Linked DNA regions of Homo sapiens: regions 2, 3, 4 and 5 are each linked to region 1. The links are contacts of gene promoters, found by promoter capture Hi-C in blood cells and fetal thymus (Javierre and others, 2016). All regions are on one chromosome and are shown on one strand. Each heading gives the region's core, a stretch centred on a gene start or on the middle of the fragment in contact. The rest is flanking DNA. Distances are from core to core; before and after follow the strand shown. Region 1 holds the start of RAB12 (RAB12, member RAS oncogene family). Region 2 overlaps ANKRD12 (ankyrin repeat domain 12). Region 3 overlaps RALBP1 (ralA binding protein 1). Region 4 holds the start of TWSG1 (twisted gastrulation BMP signaling modulator 1). Region 5 overlaps PPP4R1 (protein phosphatase 4 regulatory subunit 1).

Region 1 (2,700 bases), core at 88-2,587:
GCAACAGAGCAAGGCTGTCTCAAAATCAAAACAAAACAAAATGAAAGAAAAAGAAAGAAAGAAGGAAAGAAAGAAAGTAAATTCCGTGATGGTAAGTGATGGATCTGTGTTTCAAATAATATAGAGGGATCATATTTTACATATTCTCAGAATTCATATTATAAAGATCCCTACAGTGACTGCACAGTTAAGAATGCTCTCATAGATGTAAACTTCCAATCTACACTGTGGGCAACGCTAGATTTTTACAAATCAGGTTTGCTGTGTAACATATGCGTGTACTGTGCATTACTAAACCTAGTTCTAAATACAGCACAGCTGAAATTTTGTGGGTAACGTGATCATTCGGCAAATGTTGCCAGCCCCTATCATATTCAGAACCCTGTGTTCTGAGATGCTCAAGTTCAAGCTGAGGAATTTGCTAAACAAATCTCTGGCAAGGAATCAGCAGTGATTTTCTGTATCCTTAAATCCTTCCAAACAGAAATGGCAAAACATACGACCCGAGTCCATAATTCCTAAAGTTTCAATCTTCTCGCACTGTTTGAGTTTTAACTCGCTTATTCCCCCAAAGGAGTATGCCATTTACTTAATTTAAAAATTAAACAGCATAAAAACTTCTGAACTCTGAGTGAGACAGCGATCAGAGTTAAAAATAACTGATTTCGCGCGTTTCCGTGCAAAATGGGAGACAGACGTGACGGAGAGAGACCGAGCAGTGCCACGGCCCGGTAGAGGGTGCGGGGGCTTGCACCCGCTGGTGTTTGTGAGAGAGCGCTGGTGTAGACGCGAACGCAGCGCAGGCGGCCCGGCGGCGCGGCCTCAGGTCGGGGCCTTTCCAGCGTTCCAGCTACACCGAGCGCGCGGGGGCGAAAACATGTGCATGGTGTTTGGGGACTGTGCGCATGGGAGTGTTTTCACTGTCAACCAGGGTTCTTTTTCTTATTTTGAACCCATTTTCATGATGCACCGGAATGCTGAAGTTCAAAATTGCCTACGGAGAATTTTAAGACTAAAACCACACTAAGTTTCTTGTGTTAACTATAAATGCGGGTCAGAGTGAAAGCCGAGTAGGGAGGAGTGAAAAGGGGGAAAAGGGAAGAGATAAGAGGAAGAAAAGATGAAAGAGCCGGCGGAAGAGGGAGGGAAGCGGGGGCGGGCAGGCGAGCAGAGGCAGGGAAAGAGCGGCGCGGGTTGCGGGAAAGCTCCGCGCGCAGTACCCAACCGAGGCCCGGGCGCGCGGTCCTCCCGCCGGCAGGGGGCGCCCACCCGCCCGCCTCCGGCCCCTCGCGGCCAGCCGCCCCGCCCGCGCCTGCGCTTCCTGCCCCTCCTCGTCCGGGATGCTGCTGCCGCTACTGCGGAGTAGCTGCTTCCCTTCCTCCTCTCCCGGCGGCGGCGGCGGCAGCGGCGGAGGAGGAGGAGGAGGGGACCCGGGCGCAGAGAGCCGGCCGGCGGCGCAGTTGCAGCGCGGAGCCCACGGGCCGCCGGGGCCGCTCCAGCGGGCGGAAGCCGAGCCCGGGGCCGACCCCCCGCGCGCGGCGGAGGCCGAGGGGGCGCCGGGGCCCGGGGCGCGCAGCCGGGGGGCGGGCGGCGGCGGGCGGCGGGCCGAGCGGGAGCCGCATGCGTGTATGGATCCGGGCGCCGCGCTGCAGAGGCGGGCCGGGGGCGGCGGCGGTCTGGGCGCGGGCTCCCCGGCGCTGTCGGGCGGCCAGGGCCGCCGGAGGAAGCAGCCCCCCAGGCCGGCCGACTTCAAGTTGCAGGTCATCATTATCGGCTCCCGCGGCGTGGGCAAGACCAGCCTGATGGAGCGCTTCACCGACGACACCTTCTGCGAGGCCTGCAAGTCCACCGTGGGTAAGGGCGCCACGGCGACCCTGGGCCGGGCCTCCTGGCGCCCGGGCAGGTGCCCTTCGCCCCGTGGGCTTCGAGTCTCATCGAGCCTGGGAGTCTTTCGGGGATGGGCCTCTCGGTGAAACTAGGGGCGGGGGTCTCCTTGGAGCGCCCTGCATCCCAATCCCAAAGCCTGGCAGAGGTTTTCGTGCCGCCTCCGGGCAGACCTGCCCTTGGCCCCCGGCCCTGCCTCAGAGGTCCTGGCAGCCCCCGGGGCCTGTGGGGGCGGCTCTCCACGGAAACTTCGGCCCTTAGCATACTCGCCCAAGAAAAAGCTGGGTTCGAGTGGAGCGCAGGCAGGCAGGGGAGTGAACGCCTAAGGCCGCTCTCGCCCGGCCCGCCAAGGCCAGCGCGCGCCGTCTGCTGCGGGTGTGATCCCTGCGCAACCAGGGCAGTTTTCTTATTTTGAACCCATTTTCAAGAAATGAAGTTTAAAGTCACCTATGGAGAATGTTAAAACTAAAACTACAGTAAGTTTCTCGTGCTAGCCGTACGTACGGGGCAGAGGAGCTTCAGCTGTATTTATCCATGACCTCAAACAACCCGGTGACTGGCGGGCATGGGGTTGATTCCTCCAGTACCGCTGTTTTCGGTGAGGGACAGGAGTGAAGTAAGTACAGGAACGCTCCAGGGTCAAGGAGGAAAACAGCCGTGGATCTGAAATGGAAACTGCAGGGGAAATTTTTTTAATTAAGTCATGCTTAGAGGACTTGACATTGAGATTTCTCAGTTGGATGTGGGTAGCAGTTGTTTCTATGGAAAACCCCTTAAAAGATGTCCAAACTAGGAGAACCCCGTTCTTTAAAATAA
Region 2 (2,700 bases), core at 46-2,545, 580 kb after region 1:
CATTAAATATTAAAATAGTTAGGATTTTGACAAGAATGTTCACACCTTTCACTGCTCATCTGTGGTCTTTTCCCCCCATTGATTCTAGTTTAGTTTAGAAATGTCTCCACTACTCTTTTAGCTATAAATCAGTATTTAAAATTTGCAAAGCAGAATCTTTTATAAACTCTGTTAAGATAGTCTAAAACCTGGTTAAATTCATAAAATGTGAGAGAGGGGATATTAATTATTTTAACCATCTGAATAGTTCTGTTATATCCTTTTCGTCATCAGTGTAGTTCAGACATTCATTATTTCCTCTCCAAGTGACTATTGAGAATTTTTTCTTTTATTATCCAAGTATTATAATACATGTTTGTTGTAAAAAATTAGAAAATACATATAAGAATAATGAAAATAGAAATTACCTATTACCTTGTCAACAACTGTGAAGGTTCTGAGATTTTACCCTACTTGTAAGCTAATTAGCTTCATGGATGCTGGCAGAAGACACAATTCCTAGGTCAGTGATGAAGGAATATTTGCTATTCAGCAATAGCAGTAGCCAGAGTATCATTGTTTGTGCCTGTTCCCTGAGCCTCGCTTCTCACAAGGGGGATGCAGTGATGGGCAGATGACAACTGCATATGCAGTGGGTTGTATTACAGGGTAGGAACCCCAAATCTTTTATGATGGGCAGTAAGTCTGCCTGAACTTTTCCCTAGAAGGAGACATTATTACACTGGACAGCAAACAGGTATGTCCTTAGCTTTAGAGGGAGACACTACCTCTGTCTTTCGAGGCTGTTTATCATACAAATACCCATGAAAAGATAGTCCAGGACAAAGGAAATTAGTGTGTCTGCTCGCAACATGTGCAAAAATGCAAGAGAGACATGGAGAATTATGTCCCAACACAGCTGTAATGGCACCACCTACAGATAGCTATTAACATTTTGGTTTACAGGCATACCTCATTTTATTGCACTTCACTTTATTGTGCTTTGCAGATAATTGTGCTTTTTACAAATTGAAGGTTAGTGGCAACCCTGTGTTGAGCAAGTTCATTGGCAACATTTTTCCAACAGCATGTACTCACTTGTCTCTATGTCACATCTTGATAATTTTCATATTTCCAACTTTTTCATTATCATGATGATGATTAGTGATCTTTGTTACTGTTGTAGTTGTTTTGTGGGCACCACACTGTATGCAGAAAAGATGGCAAGCTTAATGTTGTATGTGTTCTACTGCTCCACTTACTGGCTTCTCTCCCAACTCCGCCCCTCCTTGGGCCTTCCTATTTCCTAAAACAACAATTTTGAAATTGTTGTGTTTCAGTGGTCTCTAAGTATTCAAGTGAAGAGTGGAATGTCTCTCATTTTAAGTCAAAAGCTCTAAATGATTAAGCTTAGTGAGGAAGGTATGTCAAAGGCTGAGAGAGGTCAAAAGCTAGGCCTCTTGTGCCAGTTAACCAAGAGAGGAATGCCAAGGAAAAGTTCTTGAAGAACACTAAAAGTGCTGTTAAAGTGAACACACCATAAGAAAGCAAAACAGTCTTATTGCTGATATGGAGGAAGTTTGGAGTGGTCTGGATAGAAGATCAAACCAGCTACAACATCCCCTTAAACCAAAGTTCAATCCAGATCAAGGCCCTCTCCTCAATTCTGTGAAGGCTGAGAGAGGTTTGGAAGCTGCAGAAGAAAAGTCTGAAGCTAGCATAAGTTGGTTCATGAGGTTTAAGGAAAGAAGCTGTCTCCATAACATAAAAGTGCAAGGTGAAGCACCAAGTGCTAATGTGGAAGCTACAGCAAGTTATCCAGAAGATCTAGCTATGATCTTTGATGAAGATGGCTACACTAAACTACAGATTTCAGTATAGATGAAATAGCCTTCTATTGGAAAAAGATACCATGTAGGACTTTGAAAGCTAGAGAGGAGAAGTCAATCCCTGGCTTCAAAGCTTCAGAGGACAGGCTCACTGTCTTGTTAGGGACAAATGCAGCTGACAACTATTAAGTTAAAGCCAGTGCTCTTTTTCCATTGCAAAAACGCCAAGACCCATAAGAATTACGTGAAATTTACTCTGCCTGTACCTTATCAATGGAAAAACAGTGCCTAATGACAGCACATCTGTTCACAGCATGGTTTCCTGAATAGATTAAGCCTACTGTTGAGACTTACTAAGAAAAAAGGATTATTTTCAAAATATTACTGCTCATTGACAACATGTCAGTGAGCTGTCACCCAAGAGCTCTGACAGAGACATACAAAGAGAATAATGTTGTTTTCATGGCTGCTGACATGCAGTCCATTCTGCAGCCCATAGGTCAAGGAATAATTTTAACTTTTTAAACAAGTCTTATTAAAGAAGTATGCTTTGTAAGGCTGTAGCTGCCATAGAGAGTGATTCCTCTGATGGATTTGGGCAAAAAAATTGAAAACCATCTTGAAAGGATTCACCATTTTAGATGCCATTAAAAACATTTGTGATTCATGAGAGGAAGTCAAAATACCAATATTAACCAGAGTTTGGAAAAGTTGATTCTAACACTCATGGATGACTGAGAGGGTCAAGACTTTAGTGGAGGAACTAACTGTAGATGGGATTGGAAAACGCAAGAGAATGAGAATCAAGTGGAGCCTGAAGATGTGACTGAATTGCTGAAATCTCATGATCAAACTTGAAACCTACTTTTAAAACAACCTTATAAGCAAAACA
Region 3 (2,700 bases), core at 131-2,630, 910 kb after region 1:
AGTGAAAAGCTAGATTAGCTGGTGCCAGGTGGCACCGTTTTTTGGTTCTGTTTTTAGAAAGCATATGGACAGTTTGACATTAAACAAACATATAACTTATACTGTCTCTGTTTCTTTGGCAGCTGAAGGCTATGCAGCCTTTCAGGAAGATAGCTCTGGAGATGAGGCAGAAAGTCCTTCTAAAATGAAGAGGTCCAAGGGAATCCATGTTTTCAAGAAGCCCAGCTTTTCTAAAAAGAAGGAAAAGGATTTTAAAATAAAAGAGAAACCCAAAGAAGAAAAGCATAAAGAAGAAAAGCACAAAGAAGAAAAACATAAAGAGAAGAAGTCAAAAGACTTGACAGCAGCTGATGTTGTTAAACAGTGGAAGGAAAAGAAGAAAAAGAAAAAGCCAATTCAGGAGCCAGAGGTGCCTCAGATTGATGTTCCAAATCTCAAACCCATTTTTGGAATTCCTTTGGCTGATGCAGTAGAGAGGACCATGATGTATGATGGCATTCGGCTGCCAGCCGTTTTCCGTGAATGTATAGATTACGTAGAGAAGTATGGCATGAAGTGTGAAGGCATCTACAGAGTATCAGGTACTGGGAATGTGCACTTCACTTGATGGTTTTTAATAATAACTTCAGTTTCATTTTTCGAAGGAAGAAAAATTATTGTGAGGAAAATTTGGCCTGGATCCTAAGCCTTATTCATTTCCTTGATCCTACCAGTTGCACAAAAATCCACCCCTCTCCCCAGCCTTTCTTTGGTGTTCTGGCATTTGTTTTTTTAATATTTCCTTCCATTAGGAGGATTTCACGTTAGTTGTTCATAGCTTGCAGCAGCCAGGACTAAAACAAAGTGAAGTATACTGGCAGCATTGCTTAACAGGGCTGCATTCAGACCCTGCTTTTTTTTTTCTTTTGTTTGTTTGTTTTTTTGAGACAGAGTCTCGCTCTGTTGCCCAGGCTGGAGTGCAGTGGCGTGATCTCGGCTTACTGCAACCTCTGCCTCCTGGGTTCAAGCGATTCCCCTGCCTCAGGCTCCTGAGTAGCTGGGATTACAGGCGCCTGCCGCCACACCCAGCTAATTTTTGTATTTTTAGTAGAGGCAGGGTTTCACCATGTTGGTCAGGCTGGTCTCGAACCCCTGACCTCAGATGATCTGCCCTCCTCGGCCTCCCAAAGTGCTGGGATTACAGGAGTGAGCCACCACTCCCAGGCGCCTGCTTTTTTTTTTTTTTTTTTCTTTCCTCTCTAAGCAGAGGCTCAGTGGTATGAGGGCCATCAGCAAGAAAAGAAAGGTTAACTGTGTGAAGGAAGCTTCTTGGCCAAGAGACACGTTTATGGACACAGTCATATAATGCATTTCCTTAGCTCAGCTAAGAGGCATGACATGGTTTTGGTTTTGGTTTTCTTGGTGCGCGGTTCTTAGAGTTAGTGCAGTACCCGGTCAATACATGGAGTGGTCCAAGCAAGCTTCTGTTCCATCTCCCTGCTCCAGAAATCCTAGAACAGATACTACACCCAACTTTAGCCAAAAGACCAAGAAGCAGTAAATGTTTAGGCCCCACATGTGAATGCTTTGGTCAGCTACATGCAACTATTACGTATATTAGCAAAATGGATTTTCTATTTATCTTTATTCCATATGTATACAAATTAAATTTCATACTTGGAAAGAATGTGTTTTGATTGGGTATCTAAATCAAGCAATATGTATATTATTTAAAAGTAAAAAGATTTCTTAGAAAGCGGTATGACTTTTATACCAGGATAGGATGAAAGCCCTGACCTGTAGCAGCATCTGTGTTCCAAATTATTACATTCCCATTATTCAGTGTCTTGGTACCTCATCAGTTTCTGTTTAGAGATTTGTTTTATAAAGTTAATTGTTGGCTGAGGCAGGAGGATCACTTGAACCCAGGAGTTTGAGGCTGCAGTGAGCCATGATCGTACCACTGCACTCCAGCCAGGGCGAGATTGAGACCTTGTCTCAAAAATAATAATAATAATACTTGTTGGTCACAAGTACTTTCATGATGAGTTGTTAAGTCATACACATGTGGAATATATAGAGAGATAGACTTAGTTTTTTCATTTAGTTGGTTCATACGCAATTCTAGAAGGTAGATTTGATACTTAAGTTTTGCTGAGAAAGGGCAGATATTTTTGATAATTGGGAAAACCGTTACATAATCCACTAGATTACATGCCATTATTTAAGAGTATTTTTGGTAAAATGTTACTTTTTTATAGAAAATTAAATAAATTAGGCATTGAATTTGAGTTTATAACTCCTTAGTATTATATAAATATATTTAAACAAATATTTGATTTTTATGAATAATTGGCTAGGCATGGTAGCTCACGCCTGTAATCCCGGCACTTTGGGAAGCCGAGGTGGGCAGATCACGAGGTCAGGAGATTGAGACCATCCTGGCCAACATGGCGAATCCCTGTCTGTACTAAAATACAAAAAATTAGCCAGGAGTGGTGGCGCACGCCTGTAGTCCCAGCTGCTTGGGAGGCTGAGGCAGGAGAATAGCTTGAACCCGGGAGGCAGGGGTTGCAGTGAGCAAAGATCGCGCCACTGCACTCCAGCCTGGCAACAGAGCAAGATTCTGTCTCAAAAAAAAAAAAAATAAATAAATAATAATAATAATATACTGAATTGAGTTTTAAACATTTAAACATTAATAACATAAGTTGCTTCTCT
Region 4 (2,700 bases), core at 196-2,695, 730 kb after region 1:
AAGTGGGCTAACATCAGTAATGCAATCCACCCCCAGCCAATCAGCTGTTTTCATTCTGTTTCCTTCCAATCAACAAAGGTGGGTGGTAGGCATTTACGATTTACCAGCATAAGGGTTTGACACTAGGTCATCATTTCCAAGGGAAGGTGCCCCGCGGACGGTCTGGTCTAGCGGGCTCTAACTTAATCACCCTGGAATCTTCTTTAAAAAGCAAATTCCGGCCGGGCACTATGGTTCACACCTGTCATCCCAACGATTTAGGAGACCGCGGTGGGAGGATCGCTTGAGCCCCGAAATTTGAAACCAGCTTGGGCAACATAGCAAGACCTCCATATCTACAAAAAAATAAAATATTAGCCAGGCGTGGTGGTGCGCGCCCGTAGCCCCAGCTACTCGGGAGGCTGAGGCGGGAGGATTGCTTGAGCCTAGGAGGTGGAGGCTGCAGCGAGCCTGATGTTGTCACTGCCCTCCAGCCTGGTGAGAGTGAGACCTTGTCTCAAAAGAAAAAAAAAAAAAAGCAACCCAGAGTTGTGGGAAAGAACTGAGTGTCATTCTCAATGTTTTTAACCTACGTGCTAACCGCGCACCTTCTACCTAGGCTGCGCGACCTCCGCGCCCGGATCCATGGCGCCCCCTCTTCTCGACTCCCGATGCAGAGCTCCGATGCAGAGCTCAGCGCCAGCCACTCACAAGGAGCCTGGCAAGTTTTATCGAATTGGTGAACGAAGTTCGAAAGCTCTACCCTTGGAGATCCTTATTCAGTAGGTCTGAGGTAGACCTAGGAAACGCGCATTTTATATAAATCCTACCTCTGACGGCAAACGACAAGGGGTTCACGTGCCAGCTCTCCTCGGCGACGCGCTAGGCTACTCAGCGCCCCGAGCCTCGGCCTCGCATCGCTAGAACCCGGCCATGGCCGCTTCCTTACAGGGCAGCTGTGAGGAGTCCTGAGGAATTTTAGTACACGGCATATCCTCAGCGTAGTGGCTAGCACATCACAAGGCTTTAATCTTAACACTGTTGATCTTAACACTGCAACTGAGGGGGCCCGGAGAATGGGCCTGACAGGAGGGTCTGTCGGAACCTGAGGGACTGGGGATCCCGGTGCGGAGAAGCGCGAAGGGAAATCGCGTTGAGCAGCTGGGGTGGGTGCGCCTGGGGGCGTGGCCTGCGGGCCGGCGGGCGGGCGGGAGCCTGCGGTGGAGGCGTGGCACGAGGGAGGGGCGAAACCGGGTGGCGCGGAGGGGGCGTGGCGTTGGGAGGGGCGGGGGGAGTGGGCGGGGCCGAGATGGGGGCGTGCGCGCTGACAGGAGCGCCGGGGGAGTGAGAGACGCCTCCTGGCGGGAGCTGGCGGCTGTGGACCCCAGCGGGGGCGGAGGGGAAGAGGGGAGCAGGGGCGGGGAGCAAGGAGCCGGGAGGAGGGCGGCGGGCGGGCCTGTCTCTTTAAGGTGCCCGAGGCTCGCGGGCGCTGCGCTGAGGGGACGGCGGGAGGCGCGGCCTGGCCTCGCACTCAAAGCCGCCGCAGCGCGCCCCGGGCTCGGCCGACCCGGCGGGGATCTAGGGGTGGGCGACTTCGCGGGACCGTGGCGCATGGTGAGTGGGAGCGGCTGGGGGGTTGTGCAGCCTCTTGGCCTCTTGGTTGGGAAGGGGCCGGGCGCCGAGCTCGGCCCTCTAGAGGCCCGGGGCCGCGGCGAGCTTCGCGGGGGCCGGGAGAAGCCTGGGCCCGGCTGCGCGGAGGACAAAGTGGGGGTGCTGGGCGCGGGCGCACAGGCCGGACGCCGGGAGCCAGCAGCATCTCTGCGCCGCTTTGGTCCAGACCATCTCTGGGCCGGCCCGCGTCCTCCGCAGCCCGCGTCGGCCGAGCCGGGGTGGGGGTGGTTCCGGGTGCCCGGTCCCCCACACCGCTACCGGCCTCTGCCTCGCGGGGCGTCCGGCGCCTTCGGGGCCCTGGCACCGCTCTACAGAGGCTCGGCTCTGCCCTGGTCGCTGTCAGTGCCATCTCCCTTAACGAGAAACTTGGGCGTGATGTATGCGAAACAATTTTGATGCATGATGGTTTCTAACTCCTTAGGAAAAGATAAGTCCTTTAATTCTATTACCTGATTTCGACATGGTCGTAGTTACTTGAATACTTTTTCCAGTGAAATTTGGGGAGTAAGATGAATTTGTGGAACATTTCATAAGACAACCGTAAAAGATGGGAAAGGGGGGAAATCCCAGTTTTCATGGTTGTAGGATGAAAACTAGTTCCACGACAGTTAGTCTCCAAATAACCTTATTTGGCCTCCGCAAATATGTACTGGTTGCTCCAGAAATCATCCTACTTGGTATGCGGCGTTAGATACATTAGAAAATTAGTTACTAACGGTCTTTAGGGAATGCTTTGTGAGCCTCAGTAACGATCACCAGGGTTTTCTCTTTCAAAATTGACTCATACCAGGTCCAAAGCCCTTTATTCTTTTCACCCTTTTATTATTTTTCCTTTAATGTACTTTGTAACACTTAGAATAAAAGTTTAGAGTAATCATAAATGCCCCCATAAACTCACTATTTATCCCTCTTACGTCAGTAGTCATTTATTTTAATTTATTATGTTTGATAGGGAGGTGTTTTAACCTGAAGAAATGATATCTTCCCGTATTTAAAGTTTAATAACTGTATACTGTTTGGCCCCTGTCAGACTGTGTTTGTGCTAGTCTT
Region 5 (2,700 bases), core at 187-2,686, 970 kb after region 1:
TAACATAACTCCTTCCTTAGCCAGGAATGCTCTCTTTCCCCTACCATATCATTAACATAATTTAATAAGCTCTAATATTACTGAAGATCAGCAATACAAGTAGTATTGCCTGGACATTAAGACATACCTCATTACAATGGAAGAAGAATCAAGGAATTGAACTACCTTTAAATAGCTATTGCAGTAATGCTACACACCGGTAGGCGGCAAACATGGCCTTGATAGGCACACTGTTGAGGTCAGTGAAGTTTTACTGGAACACAGCCAAGCTTGTCCATTTATGTAATGTCTACGGCTGCTTATACACTGCAAAGGCCGAGTGAGTAGTTGTGAAACAGAAGAAAGTTTACCAGCTCGTCCTATACAGTTCTCTGCAAATTTATAGTTTCTTACTAGACCCATTTCAGATTTTAAAACAGAAGTTATGTAACAGTCTTCAGTATAAACAGGTAATTTTTTAAGTATGCTGATTTCAAAAATGAAAAATAGATAACATTCCCCACCCACCATCATCACTTTTGTCAAAGTCCTGGCAGCACCTGTTTTCAAAAAAACTGACAGACTTTGCTTGCTAGGAAGACAGGTTTGAGTGATTTTCTTCCTTTACAAAAAACAGTACCTCAGGTTTGTTTGGCTATTCAGCAGGACAGTAGGAGAACGGGCAAAAAGGTAAAACAAGGCAGCAGAGAAGAAAGAAGAACTGCCAAATCAAAACACCAAGAAAGCAAATAGCACAGTATCAAGACCTACAGAAGAAAATGTCCATTAGCATCATGACAAGGGAGGGAAAAGACACTATGGTAACTCAAGCATTATAGCAGGGACTGTTTCAAATATTTGTACTAAAATTACTTCAAGTGCATAACTGTAAAAGTTTGTGTACATTTCCCGCATACTAGTAAGTTAGGCTTGAATTAGTTTTTCCCCTAAATATATATTATAATAAATTTTTAAAATTTAAATTTAATAGAAAATTTTCAATGCAAAAACATTTAAAAATAAAAATCACAGCCGACTCTTTAAGCTTTATTTAAAACTTTGGTTTCCTTATGAGACTGATATACTTAAAACTGATATACTGGCTAATATACTGGCTTTCTCCTTTAACTGACAGATTACAATCACCATTGACAAAGAATCCAAGATGCGCAACTAAATTATTTGACAGAAAAGGACAATAAAACATATTCCTAAATTAAGTTTTACTCCTTAAAAACAAATTTAAAAAAACCCAAATACTACACAGTGTGTAACAATTACCCTGTATATTGTAGATATCAATGAATGATTGACTAAATAATGTACTAAATAAACATTTTTTAAAAGTCATAATCTACCATTTAGAGTTTCCTATGTGCGAGGCATCTAGCTAATTGTGTTACATGCATCTACTCATTCAATATGTAACCAACCAAAGAGATACTTAACAAACAAATGCGCTTAAAGTAAAGCTCTATAAAAATATTCACCAATTTTTATATTCAAGAGAAATAGCAAACTATCAAAAAATAACATTTGTTGCAGAATAGTGGAAATAATGTTTAAAAGCAGTAAAATTAGAAAACAAGGTTTTAAAATTAGAAAATGGTTTCAAAATTATACCTATTTTTGTTTTCTACTGACATCTCTTCTGAACTTTTGCTTTCTTCTTTAAAATACTGGCCTGAGCTAGATGGATTAGCAAAAGTAGATATGAAAGGTCCCAGAGACTGAAAAGCTGCTTGGCGAACCTAGGAAGATAAAAAGGACAATAATAAAGGAATCATTTTGAAAAAGAATTATATACGCACACATTATGTATATTTAATAATCTACTTTCAAATGCCGAAGTATGTTTAGGATAATAATGAAGCTTTTCTAAAGGAAGCCCAGATTCAGAACTTTAGCTAGGACTGAAAAATTCTTACAAGCTATTTTCTCTGGCTGGGCGCAGTGGCTCATGCCTGTAATCCCAGCACTCTGGGAGGCTGAGCTGGGCAGATCGCTTGAGTCCAGCAGTTTGAGACCAGCCTGGGCAACATGGCGAAATCCAGTCTCTACAAAAAATACCAAAGTTAGCAGGGCGTGGTGGCGCATGCCTGTGGTCCCAGCTACTCGGCAGGGCCTGAGGTGGAAGAAGCGCGTGAACCCATGAGGCTAAGTCTGTAGTGAGCCGTGATCACACCACTGTACTCCAGCCTGGGTGACAGAGCAAGACTGTCTAAAAAAAAAACCCCAAACAAACCCCTATTTGCTCTTTTTTACTTTCAATTGTTTTTATCCTCTCTTGAATGTTTGAACCATGATAATCTAAGTATGAGATACTATGAAACATTTGCATAGAACAAAACTAAAGAAGGTCCTGCTGTGTTCTCAAGAACAAAAAGAATAAGGAAAACCAAGAGTGCCACAAAGAACATAAAAATCAATAAAGCCAACAAAATGTGATAAATACATTTAATGTTTTCAGGTAGGAAAGACTTTAATTTGTTCACTAGAAGGAAGCAAGACAGACGTACCAGAAACATAATGTTAACTTAAAGTATGTCACAAAGATCTTGAAGCATATACTATTGTTCTTGATGACTGTCTCATGTAGGAGGGGTGATAAAGAAGTTATAGAATTCCACTTCATGTCGTATTTCTGTATTATTTTTAAAATCAGGAATTTTTAAAACATTTGAAAATGAGAGGTTTTATGGAAGGATGGACACAATCGGA

The links. Contacts are between HindIII fragments. The CHiCAGO score rates a contact against its expected background, and 5 or more counts as called.
Region 2: a contact is called between a fragment that was not itself captured here and the fragment with the promoter of RAB12 in region 1, in 1 of 17 cell types (naive B cells). The highest score is 6.2, in naive B cells.
Region 3: a contact is called between a fragment that was not itself captured here and the fragment with the promoter of RAB12 in region 1, in 5 of 17 cell types (total CD4 T cells, naive CD8 T cells, activated CD4 T cells and 2 more). The highest score is 9.4, in total CD4 T cells.
Region 4: a contact is called between the fragment with the promoter of TWSG1 here and the fragment with the promoter of RAB12 in region 1, in 11 of 17 cell types (activated CD4 T cells, total CD4 T cells, naive CD8 T cells and 8 more). The highest score is 16.0, in activated CD4 T cells.
Region 5: a contact is called between a fragment that was not itself captured here and the fragment with the promoter of RAB12 in region 1, in 1 of 17 cell types (naive CD8 T cells). The highest score is 5.9, in naive CD8 T cells.

What each region holds. Positions count from the first base shown.
Region 1 is chr18:8,608,100-8,610,799 of GRCh38, forward strand. It overlaps RAB12 (RAB12, member RAS oncogene family), which reads left to right and starts at 1,338. Exons shown (of 6, transcript NM_001025300.3): 1 at 1,338-1,854. The coding sequence starts at 1,341. RefSeq lists silencers at 1,166-1,395, 1,826-2,125 and an enhancer at 2,576-2,625. The HindIII fragment of the contact is 24,115 bases long and covers 1-2,700 here.
Region 2 is chr18:9,187,610-9,190,309 of GRCh38, forward strand. All of the region lies in intron 2 of ANKRD12 (ankyrin repeat domain 12), which reads left to right. Among named protein-coding and RNA genes, the nearest start is that of ANKRD12, 52 kb to the left of the region's middle. The HindIII fragment of the contact is 181 bases long and covers 1,206-1,386 here.
Region 3 is chr18:9,516,723-9,519,422 of GRCh38, forward strand. It overlaps RALBP1 (ralA binding protein 1), which reads left to right. Exons shown (of 10, transcript NM_006788.4): 3 at 123-581. It also overlaps the pseudogene RNU2-27P. Among named protein-coding and RNA genes, the nearest start is that of RALBP1, 43 kb to the left of the region's middle. The HindIII fragment of the contact is 156 bases long and covers 1,303-1,458 here.
Region 4 is chr18:9,333,328-9,336,027 of GRCh38, forward strand. It overlaps TWSG1 (twisted gastrulation BMP signaling modulator 1), which reads left to right and starts at 1,446. Exons shown (of 5, transcript NM_020648.6): 1 at 1,446-1,593. It overlaps TWSG1-DT (TWSG1 divergent transcript), which reads right to left and starts at 1,142. Exons shown (of 3, transcript NR_183523.1): 1 at 810-1,142. RefSeq lists a silencer at 1,147-1,936 and enhancers at 1,734-2,234, 1,997-2,046. The HindIII fragment of the contact is 11,774 bases long and covers 1-2,700 here.
Region 5 is chr18:9,575,462-9,578,161 of GRCh38, forward strand. PPP4R1 (protein phosphatase 4 regulatory subunit 1) reads right to left here. Exons shown (of 20, transcript NM_001042388.3): 10 at 1,603-1,730. Among named protein-coding and RNA genes, the nearest start is that of PPP4R1, 38 kb to the right of the region's middle. The HindIII fragment of the contact is 828 bases long and covers 1,023-1,850 here.